2 separate regions of the Homo sapiens genome follow, and region 2 is linked to region 1. The links are contacts of gene promoters, found by promoter capture Hi-C in blood cells and fetal thymus (Javierre and others, 2016). All regions are on one chromosome and are shown on one strand. The core of a region is centred on a gene start or on the middle of the fragment in contact, and the rest is flanking DNA. Distances in the headings are between cores, read along the strand shown. Region 1 holds the start of ITFG1 (integrin alpha FG-GAP repeat containing 1). Region 2 overlaps LOC105371240 (a long non-coding RNA gene).

Region 1 (5,730 bases), core at 1,120-3,619:
TACAAGAATCTGAAACCTCAAATTTAACTATTAATTTGGAGGAATAACTTCAAGTGGTATCTCTTTACTACTATGATGTAAACATACAGGAACATTCAACATTGATACTATGCACTTTGCACATAAAAGTGGATTTAAATAACTGCACTCAACAACAGTTAACACTAGAATTTTTTTTCTCAGCTAAGAAAAGAGAATTAAGGTTTTCAAAGCTTACTGTTATGACATGCATTTCAGAGGAAACAAAGACTGACGAAGAAAATCAACTCTATGAGCTTATGAAAGTTAAAGAGAAATGTTGCAAAAATATATGTTGGGGGCAGTACTCAGGTCCCTGTAAGAAAACTCCAGTTATTCTCTTTGTTCAGACATAACCAATCCAATAACACTTTTTATATCCAGATAGCCACATCGTTAGTAGCCAACTCAGTATTTCTATATCACACAAAAACAATTTAAGAAAAAGTGTGAAACAAATACATGTGACTATTCCAAGTCACTTTATTGATTCTTAGTAGTACTAAGGACTACTTTTTGAAAAAATTATCTCATACTTCATAGATGGTAATTTTACTATAACCCTAAGTATATAAAGCTGAACTTTTTGTAAGGTATAAAAAAACAGAGTGTTCGGTGTATGATTTCTGAAATTAGATTTTCAGAAATTAGATTTACTTTCTCCAAAAAAAAAAAAAAAAAAGTCAGTGTGCACAACAGACAACTAAGAACTTCATAAATAGGAAAAGCCCAAAACGTAAGGAGAACATATTAGGTGAGAAAATAATTTTTTTTTTTTTTGAGACGGAGTCTCACTCTGTCGCCCACGCTGGAGTGCAGTGGTGCGACCTCCACTCACTGCAGCCTCCGCCTCCCAGGTTCAAGCAATTCTTCTGCCTCAGACTCCCGAGTAGCTGGGGTTACAGGCGCCCGCCACCACGCCCAGGTAATTTTTGTATTTTTAGTAGAGATGGGGTTTTACCAGGTTGGCCAGGCTGGTCTCGAACTCCTGACCTCAGGTGATCCGCCCGCCTCGGCCTCCCAAAGTGCTGGGATTACAGGCGTGAGCCACCGCGCCCGTCCGAAAATAATTTCTTAATATCAATGCAAGTGCAAAGTTAATTTTCCTAGCTAACACCTTTCACACCCACCCCCAATAATGACACTTCATCAATTCTTTAAAAGGGAAGCTCCTTAGCTGAAAACCTGCATTCCGCCTTTCACCTTTCCTGTTTAAGTGCATGCCTTTTGTTCAAGATTATATCCAGCCAACCAGGAATACAGGAAGTTTTAATAACGCCACAAGTCATGACGTTGCAATTTGAACAAGTCAGTTCGGGACACTTGGAACTGTTAAAACTGCCTGCAAGGCACCTTCTGACCTCTATGCTTTCGGGTTTGGAAACCACACAACCTGGGGCCACTTAAGAAGCCCTTTTCTTTCTGGGCCCTAACTATACTCTTCAATATCTGAGGCCCAGTCTCCTTCAGTTTCTGCTAGATAGATGACAGGTCTACTGCTTAGAACCTGTGGGGAATGTAAAAGGGATATAAGACATAAAGCAAGGAGCCCAGACGCCGGCTTTCTGCAGCCAGATCGTAGTTACATCTGACTTGGTCTGATTAAGCTATCTGACTTTTGCAGAGAACATTCACAGGAAAGACACATTCACAGGGAAGACACATTCCCTTTCCCAGGAATGTGCCGCCGCCCGATTTTTAAGTTAGAAGACTCTAAGGGAAGTCCGGACCGCTGCCTACTTTCCGAGTGGGGCTCACAAGCGGAATAGAGTCGGGGGCACACGCAGAGTGGAGCTGGCTCTGCCACCTAATTTTTAGAGGTGGAGGAAGATATTAGAAACAAGGCCAGGGCCGCCACCTGCTTTCTAAGGAGGAACTCGGGGCACAGGTTCATTCCCAGGGCCCCCACCTGCCTCCCGCCAAGGCGCTTGAGGCGAAGCACCACCCAAGGTACTCGGGTGGGGGGCGGCGCCCCAGCCAGCCAAACCTGAGCGCTTGGTCCGAGCTCTTCGCTCCAAGACCTTCCAGCTCACTTCTGCCGTGAGTCCCGCCGCCCCCGCCATCGCGCTCCGGTCGCCGCCTTGGCCACCGCCCCCGGGGCCGCCTGTCAGCAATGCCGGGCCACGCCCCCCGCACGACACTGTCGGGAGGCGCGCCTGCCGGAAGTGAGCGTGAGGGCGGCTTTCACCCTAGCTCCACTGCTTTTTTAGCGTCGGAAGGGCAGCCCTAGTGGGAGAGAGAAAAAGGAGCCGGCAGCGGCTCTTACGCGTCCCGGGGCTGCGCGCCACTCTCTCGGCCGGTAACGCGGTGCTTTGCGGCTGTCGTCAAGCGCGGCGTTGGGCCGGCGGGCGGGGGCTGAGGGGCTGCCATGGCGGCGGCGGGCCGGCTCCCGAGCTCCTGGGCCCTCTTCTCGCCGCTCCTCGCAGGGCTTGCACTACTGGGAGTCGGGCCGGTCCCAGCGCGGGCGCTGCACAACGTCACGGCCGAGCTCTTTGGGGCCGAGGCCTGGGGCACCCTTGCGGCTTTCGGGGACCTCAACTCCGACAAGCAGACGGATCTCTTCGTGCTGCGGGAAAGTCAGTGCTTGCCGGGCCCTCCCTCTGTTCGCTGTCCGTGTGCCTCTCCCGGTGTTCCCCAAACCCATTGCCCAATGGCCGGTCCTTCTGCATTTCCTGGTCCTTCTCTCCCAGCCCTGTGGCCTTCCCTTTAGCATTCTTAACAGCTTGTCCTTTTGCACCACCCTTTCCAACCCCAGGTTCTGACCCAGCTACCCTACAGTTTGACCTACCCTCAAAAGCCCTGACAGCACCTCAGTTTTGTTCCTAAGAAGTCTGCGGCCCTCACCCAGTCACCTTACCCCCTCCTCCCCATGGAATCACCTGTTTTCCAAAGTGCTTCCTGATTCCTAGGAATCTTTGTAGCTTGCCTCAACGTTCGCTCCCAAGGCCCACTCATTCCTTTCTATTTTGCTTCAGTCTTCCTTCCCCGTTGATGAACATGAAAAGGTGCAACCTGACAATCTCTTCTCATAGGGGGCTTCTTCTTGCCTCCCCACCTACCTAATTCGCCCACCCCTTTCTTTGTCAAGGCCACAACTTTCTATGAAGCGAATGTACCCTTCCAAGGGCCTAAACACTAAACAGCTCACACAAGCATTTTGCAGGGACCACTGATAAACCCAATGCCTCCTTGGGAAAGCAGTCTCAAACTACAGAAATTTCTCTCTTGAGCTGCCTGTTCTTTCGTGTACTCCTTCCTCATCTTGGTCATCACCTTAGTGTTCCAAATGTCTACTTTCTTTGCTAACTTGTTCTTGGAAATTCTTTGCTTTGACAATCGTTAAACTAACTTTTTTGTAAATCTTGATGCTGACAGTGGGCATTAGGGGGTCTTAGGGTTCTTGAGTACCTACAGAAGCAGGTGCTGCTTAAAGATCAATGCTGTGAAGGAAGGAAGGAAGAGCTACTCAGAGCTTGCCTGACAGGATCCTGAACCAGACTTCTTGGAGCCCTTGCGGGGATGCAGGAACCTCTTACAAACCCTGAATATTTTCCCAATCTTTTTGACTCCTCATTTTGCAGTGTACTGCCAAACCTGTTGCTGCTGTGTCCAAACTGGATACAGAGAGTAGCCTTGACTTTAAAGATGGCCTGTGTTTGATTAAACAATTCCAAAAGTCTGTCTCAATGAGTGCTAATTGAGCTCCAAGAATGTGTCACCCTCTGGAGGATGGCCCCATAGGAGGAGGGTCTTGGAGGATTCAGCATTTTGTGCTCACATGCTTAATTATGTCTTTGTCAGATATCTACAATGGGAGTCCCTGCATCCTTGGTGTGATGCATCTGTGTAATGAACCAAACAGCCTTACAAGGGACAGCATTGCTAGATTCGGGGAAGACAAGTCTTGACATGTAGTATAGTTATAAGGCATCTTTATATGGTTCTTTTAAGTCAACCAATCTGACTCCTCGCAGAATCCACTGGCTTCAGTTTCTCTTGATCAGCTGCTTTTTCCCATGTTCATCCTTTCTATTTCTCTGCTACTTTGAACATTGAACTTGTGATATAATGTTAGGCATCTCCATTGGACTAGTGGGACTATGCTTGAGAGGGCAGATGAACTGGAGTAGAATAAAAGTTTTCTTGTTGAGAACAGTGCCCAGAAACCTTCTTGTAACCACTGATTAGATATCTTATCAACAAACATTTTTCTAATATCATATATTTGTTTTCTTTAGGAAATGACTTAATCGTCTTTTTGGCAGACCAGAATGCACCCTATTTTAAACCCAAAGTAAAGGTATCTTTCAAGTAAGTACAAATATGATTATTTTGATAAAACTTTAGTCATTAATATAATAATGGATATGCAGTAGCTGATTGGTTGTCTTTAAAGTCAGCCTTAGTGTTGGGATGCAAAACCACTGTTTGTGAGGTATGAGTAGCAAGTGATTTTTTGGAAAAATAGTGAAAATACCAAAGTTTAAAAATGACTTTAAAGAAATAAATTTGAGTGGATCCAGGTTTGTTTCTATATAAACACCCTTTATTTCCTTGCAATCTCGTATCCCTCGTATCCCTTCTTGAATGTGTCTCGTTCTGTGCCTCATCTTGAGGCAGCAGTCACTCACAGTAGTCTCATTGTATTAGCCATGTGTTGTGTTTTGTGGAAGAGGGGCCTATTTTGCAGTGGGGAAAAAGTCAGTGTTCTAATTTTTTTGTTTAATTGACTGATGGTGAGTTTTTAAGGTTGACTTGGAAGGAATTCAAGTTTAATTATCTGAATTTTTAAAATGTTCAAGTAATAGTTATTTTTCTTTTCTGTGGTTGGCATTGCATGAAACAATGACCACTCCCACACCTCTACCTCCATGATAGTGACCCAACACAGTTTTGAAACTACATTCATTTGAAGCAAGCATTCGTGGCTGTCTGAATTCAAGCAAGAAGAGATGGGTCAGTGCAGGCCAAAGGGGCAGCTTCCAGAGTCATGGAACTTGAGCTTGACCTTAGTATAAATAAAAAGTTAGGTGAAGACGTTCAACTTGGAAGTTCAATTTTGGGGACAGAGCATTTATAAGAGATAAAAGTAAGAACAGCATGTTATGAAGAGGAGGTAGAAAGATCTGCCTGACAAAAGTGGAAGGTACACTTCGGGGAGTTAAGGACTAAGAACATGAGATAAGAAGGGCAGACTGGGAGCCTTCAGATACAAAAAAGAGTTTGAATGCTGTCCCATTAGAAGAGGGGAATCATCAGGTCCTTGTGCAAAGGAGAGATGATGAAAACAGTATTTTAAATTGATTTACTTGTAAACTATATGCAGAATGAATTGGTTTGTAGAAGATTAAAGACTACTTAGGAAGCTGTATTTAAAAAGTCCCTGTGTGGGCTGATTAGTTCTCAGACTCTACAGTATTTTGAGTAAACTCAAACTCATGTTAAAAAGAAAAATGGCCTTGAACTAGAACTTTGAGGGGAAAGTTATAAATGGATAAACAGGAACTTATTTCCCTTGAGAAGTGTTTTTGGGTAGTGAATGTCAGCATGCTTGGAGTGGGGAAGAAACTGAAGTTGAGTGTATATGAGAAGTGAACTAACTGCATAGAGGTGATTTTTTTTTTATTAGAAATTAAGGAAATTTAAAAGATGTAAATGGCATGTGTTCTGATAAGTTAAAACAAATATCCCAATTAATTTTTTTATTAATGC
Region 2 (5,893 bases), core at 6-2,505, 1.2 Mb before region 1:
TTCCATGCCATTTGAAACCCAGACATTCTTAAGGTTCAGCGTTACTCCCACTTTCCATAAAAACCAAGTCCTATAGGCTGCCTCTGCATATCACCTCTCTGATCAATTTTATCCTCTCTATGTCCCCAAACATTGCCTGCATTTGAGGCTCTGTCATCTCCCTCTAGCTATGACATCAGCATCCTATCTTTCCTTTCTTTTTTTTTTTTTTTTTTTTGAGATGGAGTTTCACTCTTGTTGCACAGGCTGGAATGCAGTGGTGCCATCTCGGCTCACTGCAACCTCCGCCTCCCAGGTTCAAGTAATTCTCCTGCCTCAGCCTCCTGAATAGCTGGGATTACAGGCACACACCACCACGCCCAGCTAATTTTTGTATTTTTAGTAGAGACGGGATCTCACCATGTTGGCCAGGCTGTTCTTGAACTTCTGACCTCAAGCGATCCACCTGCCTCAGCCTCTCAAAGTGCTGTCTCTCTGTTCTCAATCCTTTCCCCTCCAACCCACCCTACAGAGAGAGGACCTCACAGTGTTAATGTCCTGCTTAAAACCTTTCTATGGCAGGCGGGCATGGTGGCTTACACCTGTAGTACCCCGGGAGACTGAGGCAGGAGGATGGCTCAAGCCCAGGAGTTTGAGTTCAGCCTGGGCAACATAGTGAGACCCTGTCTCAGAGAAAACAAATTTATGAGTTTCAAGTCAAGGCTAAATTGGAAAAAATAAAATAAATTTAACCAGCCTCTCTATGGCCCCCATGGCCTTCTCAGGAAATCCAGTCTCCAGTGGTCCTGAAGCCTTAAGTGGTCTGGACCCACTTCCTGCTGTGCCTGCTCATCCTCACACCATCCCCCACAACATTCCTCAGGCCTGCAGAACATCTTACTGCTGGCCACAGAGCTCTCCTGCAGACATTTTCATCTTCTGCTCTTTCTGCTGAAAATGATCTCCCTGCGTCTTTTTTTTTTAAGAGTCTTGCTATGTTGCCTGGGCTGGTCTTGAACACCTGGATTCCAGATATCCTCCCGCCTCTGCCTTCTTGGTAGCTAAGATTACAGGCATGAGCTGTGCTATTCAGGTTCCCCTGCCTCTCATCAGGCTTGTTCCTACCTTCCTTGGGGACGTCCTCCAGGAAGCCTTCCTTAGCTTCACACCAGGCTGGGTGAGCTGCCTCATATCTGTGTTCACATATCAACTTGTGCTGATCTTGGTCGGCTTTTCTGACTCGGCCATGAGATCATGTGAGCCTTGAGGACGGAGTTTTGTCTTATTTTATAATCCCAGTGAGGCTGGGTGCAGTGGTGTGCATCAGTAAACCCAGGTTCTGCAGTGAGCTATGCAGTGAGCTATGATAATATCTGTGAATAGCCACTACACTCTAGGTTGGGCAACAGAGCAAGACCCCATCTTTAGAAAATAAAAACAGGCCAGGCACAGTGGTTCACATCGGTAATCCCAGGACTTTGGGAGGCCAAGGTGGGTGGATCACCTGAGCTCAGGAGTTTGAGACCAGCTTGGCCAGCATGGCAAAACCCCATCTCTACTGAAAATACAAAAATTAGCTTGGCACGGTGGCGCATGCCTGTAACCCCAGCTACTCAGGAGGCTGAGGCTGGAGAATCGCTTGGACCTGGGAGGCGGAGGTTGCAGTGAGCTGAGATCGTGCCACTGCACTCTGGCTTGGGTGACAGAGCAAGACCCCATCTCAGAAAAAAAAAAAAAGTAAATAATAAATAACAAAACAAATTAAATTTATTATTTAAATTTTTTAAATAACAAATGATAATCCCAGTGAGGATACATCATCTAAATAGTAGGCACTTAGTAAATAAGAAGGGAAGGAAAGCAGGAAGAAGGGAAGAGGGAAAGCAGAAAAGAAGAAAGAAAGGTCTCAAATGCTCAGCTCTCTTTCTGGGCACATGGTGGGGCTGCACCTCTCCACCCACTTGAGCTCGTGCACGGCCATGTGATCTGCTTTGGCCCATGAAGTATGAGTGAAAATGACATGTGTCACTTTTAGGCAGAAGCAGACAGGTCAGTCTGTGGTCTCCATCCTCTTTTTACTGCCTGCTGGGTCACAGAAGCACTTGTTGAGATGGAGTCTCTGTCACACAAGGCCCCTGAGTGACTAAGACAAGCAGAGCCCCTGGTGGACCTGCAGTGGACACACAGCATGGGGTGAGAAAGACACTCTGTTCTTTTGAACTGCTGAGAGTTTAGGGTTTATTATTAACCTAGCACAACCACGTCTCTTCTTTTTTTTTTTTTTTTTTGAGATGGAGTTTCACTCTTGTTCCTCAGGCTGGAATGCAGTGGCGTGATCTCAGATCACTACAACCTCCACCTCCCAGGTTCCAGCGATTCTCCTGCCTCAGCCTCCTGAGTAGCTGAGATTACAGGTGCCCACCCAAAGTACTGGGATTATGGGTGTGACCCACCTTGCCCAGCCACGTCTCTTCTTTTCTTTTTTAATTTCAACTTTTGTTTTAGATGCAGAGGATATACATGCAGGTTTGTTACATGGGTATATTGCATGATGCCGAAGTTTAAGGTACGATTGATTCTGTCACAAGCATAGGACCCAATAAGTAGTTTTCCAACCCCTGCAGCTCTCTTCCTCTACCCTCTAGGAGTCCCCAGTGTCTATTGTTTCCATCTTTGTGTCCCAATACCCAATATTTTGCTCCCACTTATAAGTAAGAACATGGGGTATTTGGTTTTCTGTTTCTATGTTAATTCAAGTGCAGTTGGTTTGAGGTATCAGGGAAAATCGCATCTTTTTACCCTTCTATTTGCTAAGAATATCAGACACTACCTTGCCTTTCCCACTGCTATACAATTTCAATTCCAATTGTCTGTTTTCCATAGATTCTTGCAAAGATGCTATAAGGTGAACAGGTGAAATATTATTTATTTATTTATTTTTTTTTTTTTTTGAGACGGAGTCTCGCTCTGTCGCCCAGGCTGGAGTGCAGTGGCGGGATCTCGGCTCACTGCAAGCTCCGCCTCCCGGGTTCACGCCATTCTCCTGCCTCAGCCTCCCAAGTAGCTGGGACTACAGGCGCCCGCCACTACGCCCGGCTAATTTTTTGTATTTTTAGTAGAGACGGGGTTTCACCGTTTTAGCCGGGATGGTCTCGATCTCCTGACCTCGTGATCCGCCCGCCTCGGCCTCCCAAAGTGCTGGGATTACAGGCGTGAGCCACCGCGCCCGGCCCAGGTGAAATATTATTATCCTCCACCTACAAACTAAGAAAAAGAACCTGAATGACTGCCCGGGACTCCCTGGGTAGGAGAGAGGGGAGCTAACACCAGAGCCCAGGTCCCCAGCTCCCCACCCAGGGCTTCACTGCTTGGCTCCAGTCAATAAAATAGCACAGGTCTAAAGAGTCTAAAATCTGGAGGTCCCCACCAGAAAGGGATCCTTCTTTTTTTAAAAAGGAAATATATCCAAAGGTTAGAATCAGGCCAGGCGCGGTGGCTCACACCTGTAATCTCAACACTTTGGGAGGCCAAGGCAGGTTGATCACTTGAGGTCAGGAGTTCGAGACTTGCCTGGCCAACATGGTGAATCCCCCATCTCTACTAAAAATACAAAAATTAGCGGGGAATGGTGGCAAGTGCCTGTAATCCCAGTTACTCGGTAGGCTGAGGCAAGAGAATCGCTTGAACTTGGGAAGCAGAGGTTGCAGTGAGCCGAGATTGCACCACTGCACTCCAGCCTGGGTGACAGAGTGAGACCCCTTCTCAAAAAAAAAGAAAAAAAGGGTTGGAATCGTGGACTTTAAAGCCCGACTGCCCAAGCTGGCCCCAGCTCCAGCCCTCACTACCCAGAGATCATGAGCATAGCTCCCTCTCTCTCAAGCTCCATTCCTCCAGGCCTGTAACACTGGGATAATAATAGTATCTACTTCTTACTCTTGTGAGTTTTAAATAAACAAATCCATGAAGAAGACTTGGCATGGCGTCTGGCATATAATAAAGGCTCGCTGAGATTTCTCTATGACTACCCTGTTATCACAGTTCTTTCCATTTAAACAGCCGCCTTCCAGGACTGTAATGCCAGGCTGCTGCCACAAGGTGGCACTGTTGTCTCTGGCCACCCTTCCTGAGTCGCTAAAGCTTCATTTCTCAAAATGCCAAGTTGAGTCAGGACGGAAGGAGAACCCAGAAAAAGATGACAGAGTCCGAGAACTCCAGACAAAAACGTGACTTCCTTGTCACATCAAAAATGATGAAACTGCTTCCGTCTTTTATCTCTGCTCTTTCTTGTAGCTGGATCCCCACACCTCAGAATAGGCTGAAGCAGCTGGTAAAATTGGGCTGCCCAGCCCCAACCCCACACCACGGGTATAACTGGGCGGGGGGTCCTAGTGGAAGGTGATTGAATCCACTGCTGTAGAGAAGGGCTTCTAGGGCTGTAGCACGCTTACGCCTCACCTGGGCACCTTATGAAAATGCAGATTCCGATTCTCAGCCTCTCTGTGCCTTATTTCCTTCATCTCAAAATAGGGAATAATAATGGCACCTACTTCAGGGAGTTATTATGCAGAAAAAGATGACAGCATGATCAGTTAAGTGATTAATTGAATAAGCAGGGCACATGGCGAGTGTCCTTGCAAGCTTTTATGTTAGAGAGAAAAAAAAGGTCAGGCTTGGGGCTGTGGGATGGGGCCTGGCACTGTGCATTTCTTTTTTGTTTGTTTGTTTTTGTTTTTGTTCTTTGAGACGAATTCTTCACTCTGTAGCCCAAGCTGGAGTGCAGTGGTGCAATCTCAGCTTACCGCAACCTCCACCTCCGGGGGCTCAAGCGATTCTCGTGCCTCAGCCTCCCAAGTAGGTGGGACTGCAGGCGCGTATCACCACGCCCAGCTAATTTTTTGTATGTCAGTAGAGACGGGGTTTCACCATGTTGCCCAGGGTCATTCCGAACTTCTGAGCTCAGGAGATCCGCCCGCCTCGGCCTCCCATTACAGGTGTGAGCCACCGCGCCCAGCCAGCACTGTGCATTTCTAACAAGCTCTTGAGTGAGGTCTGTGCTGCGGTTCCGGGCCCCATACTCTGAGGACCTGGCCCATTTGTGGCAAATGGAATTGGCGACCTCTTGGAAGTCAAGGCTGCAGTGAGCCGAGTTCCTTATGCATGCCGGTTCACCCAGCCGCACAACAGCCCTGTGAAATCAGTGTCATTGTTGCCGTTTTATGGATGATAAATGAAAACATTAAGTAACTGTCCCAAGGTTGTAACAGCTAATTATTAGCAGAGCCGGAACTCAAACACAATACACTCTGCTAAATCAAATGTTATTGTTTTATGTTGAATTAAAGTAAACGTGGCCCAGCTTTCCCTCCCTGACTTCTCAAGACAAAGAGAAAAGATCACGGAGGCAGCAGAGAGTGGAAAGGAGGGCAGCGCCTGGAGCCAAATCTATCGGACTCACAGTCTGTCCAGTCAGGAGCTGTGTGACCCTGACGAGTTGCTCAGCCTCTCTGTGCCTTATTTTCTTCATCTCAAAATAGGGAATAATAATGGCACCTACTTCGGGGAGTTATTATGCAGAAAAAGATGACAGCATGATCAATTAAGTGATAAATTAAATAAGCAGGACACATGGTGAGTGCTCAGTCATTGTCTGCACCGAGGGCTTATGTCCAAGGCTGTGAGAACTGCAGGGACCCATGATCTCCACTTTGGGCTTTAGGGAGCTCACAGTCTGATGAGGGAGAGTGGGGAAAGTGATCGCAGAAGGCCCATCGGAGCACCCATGGGGAGCAATCACCACCACGCAGCTCAGCATAAGGCAGCCACCAGCACCCCACAGGAACTGTCAAAGCTCATCTGTATGTTCATCTGCTCCTACACTCCCCAAACAAGTTTAACACCTTGAGTGAGTCCACTC

The links. Contacts are between HindIII fragments. The CHiCAGO score rates a contact against its expected background, and 5 or more counts as called.
Region 2: a contact is called between a fragment that was not itself captured here and the fragment with the promoter of ITFG1 in region 1, in 1 of 17 cell types (neutrophils). The highest score is 5.6, in neutrophils.

The regions. Positions count from the first base shown.
Region 1 is chr16:47,457,702-47,463,431 of GRCh38, reverse strand. It overlaps ITFG1 (integrin alpha FG-GAP repeat containing 1), which reads left to right and starts at 2,369. Exons shown (of 18, transcript NM_030790.5): 1 at 2,369-2,594; 2 at 4,257-4,329. The coding sequence starts at 2,387. It overlaps PHKB (phosphorylase kinase regulatory subunit beta), which reads right to left and starts at 2,101. Exons shown (of 31, transcript NM_000293.3): 1 at 2,006-2,101. The coding sequence starts at 2,081. RefSeq lists a silencer at 1,991-2,460. The HindIII fragment of the contact is 8,409 bases long and covers 215-5,730 here.
Region 2 is chr16:48,628,778-48,634,670 of GRCh38, reverse strand. The region is part of intron 1 of LOC105371240 (a long non-coding RNA gene); the gene reads right to left. Among named protein-coding and RNA genes, the nearest start is that of N4BP1, 22 kb to the right of the region's middle. RefSeq lists enhancers at 4,394-4,893, 4,894-5,395. The HindIII fragment of the contact is 5,727 bases long and covers 1-4,118 here.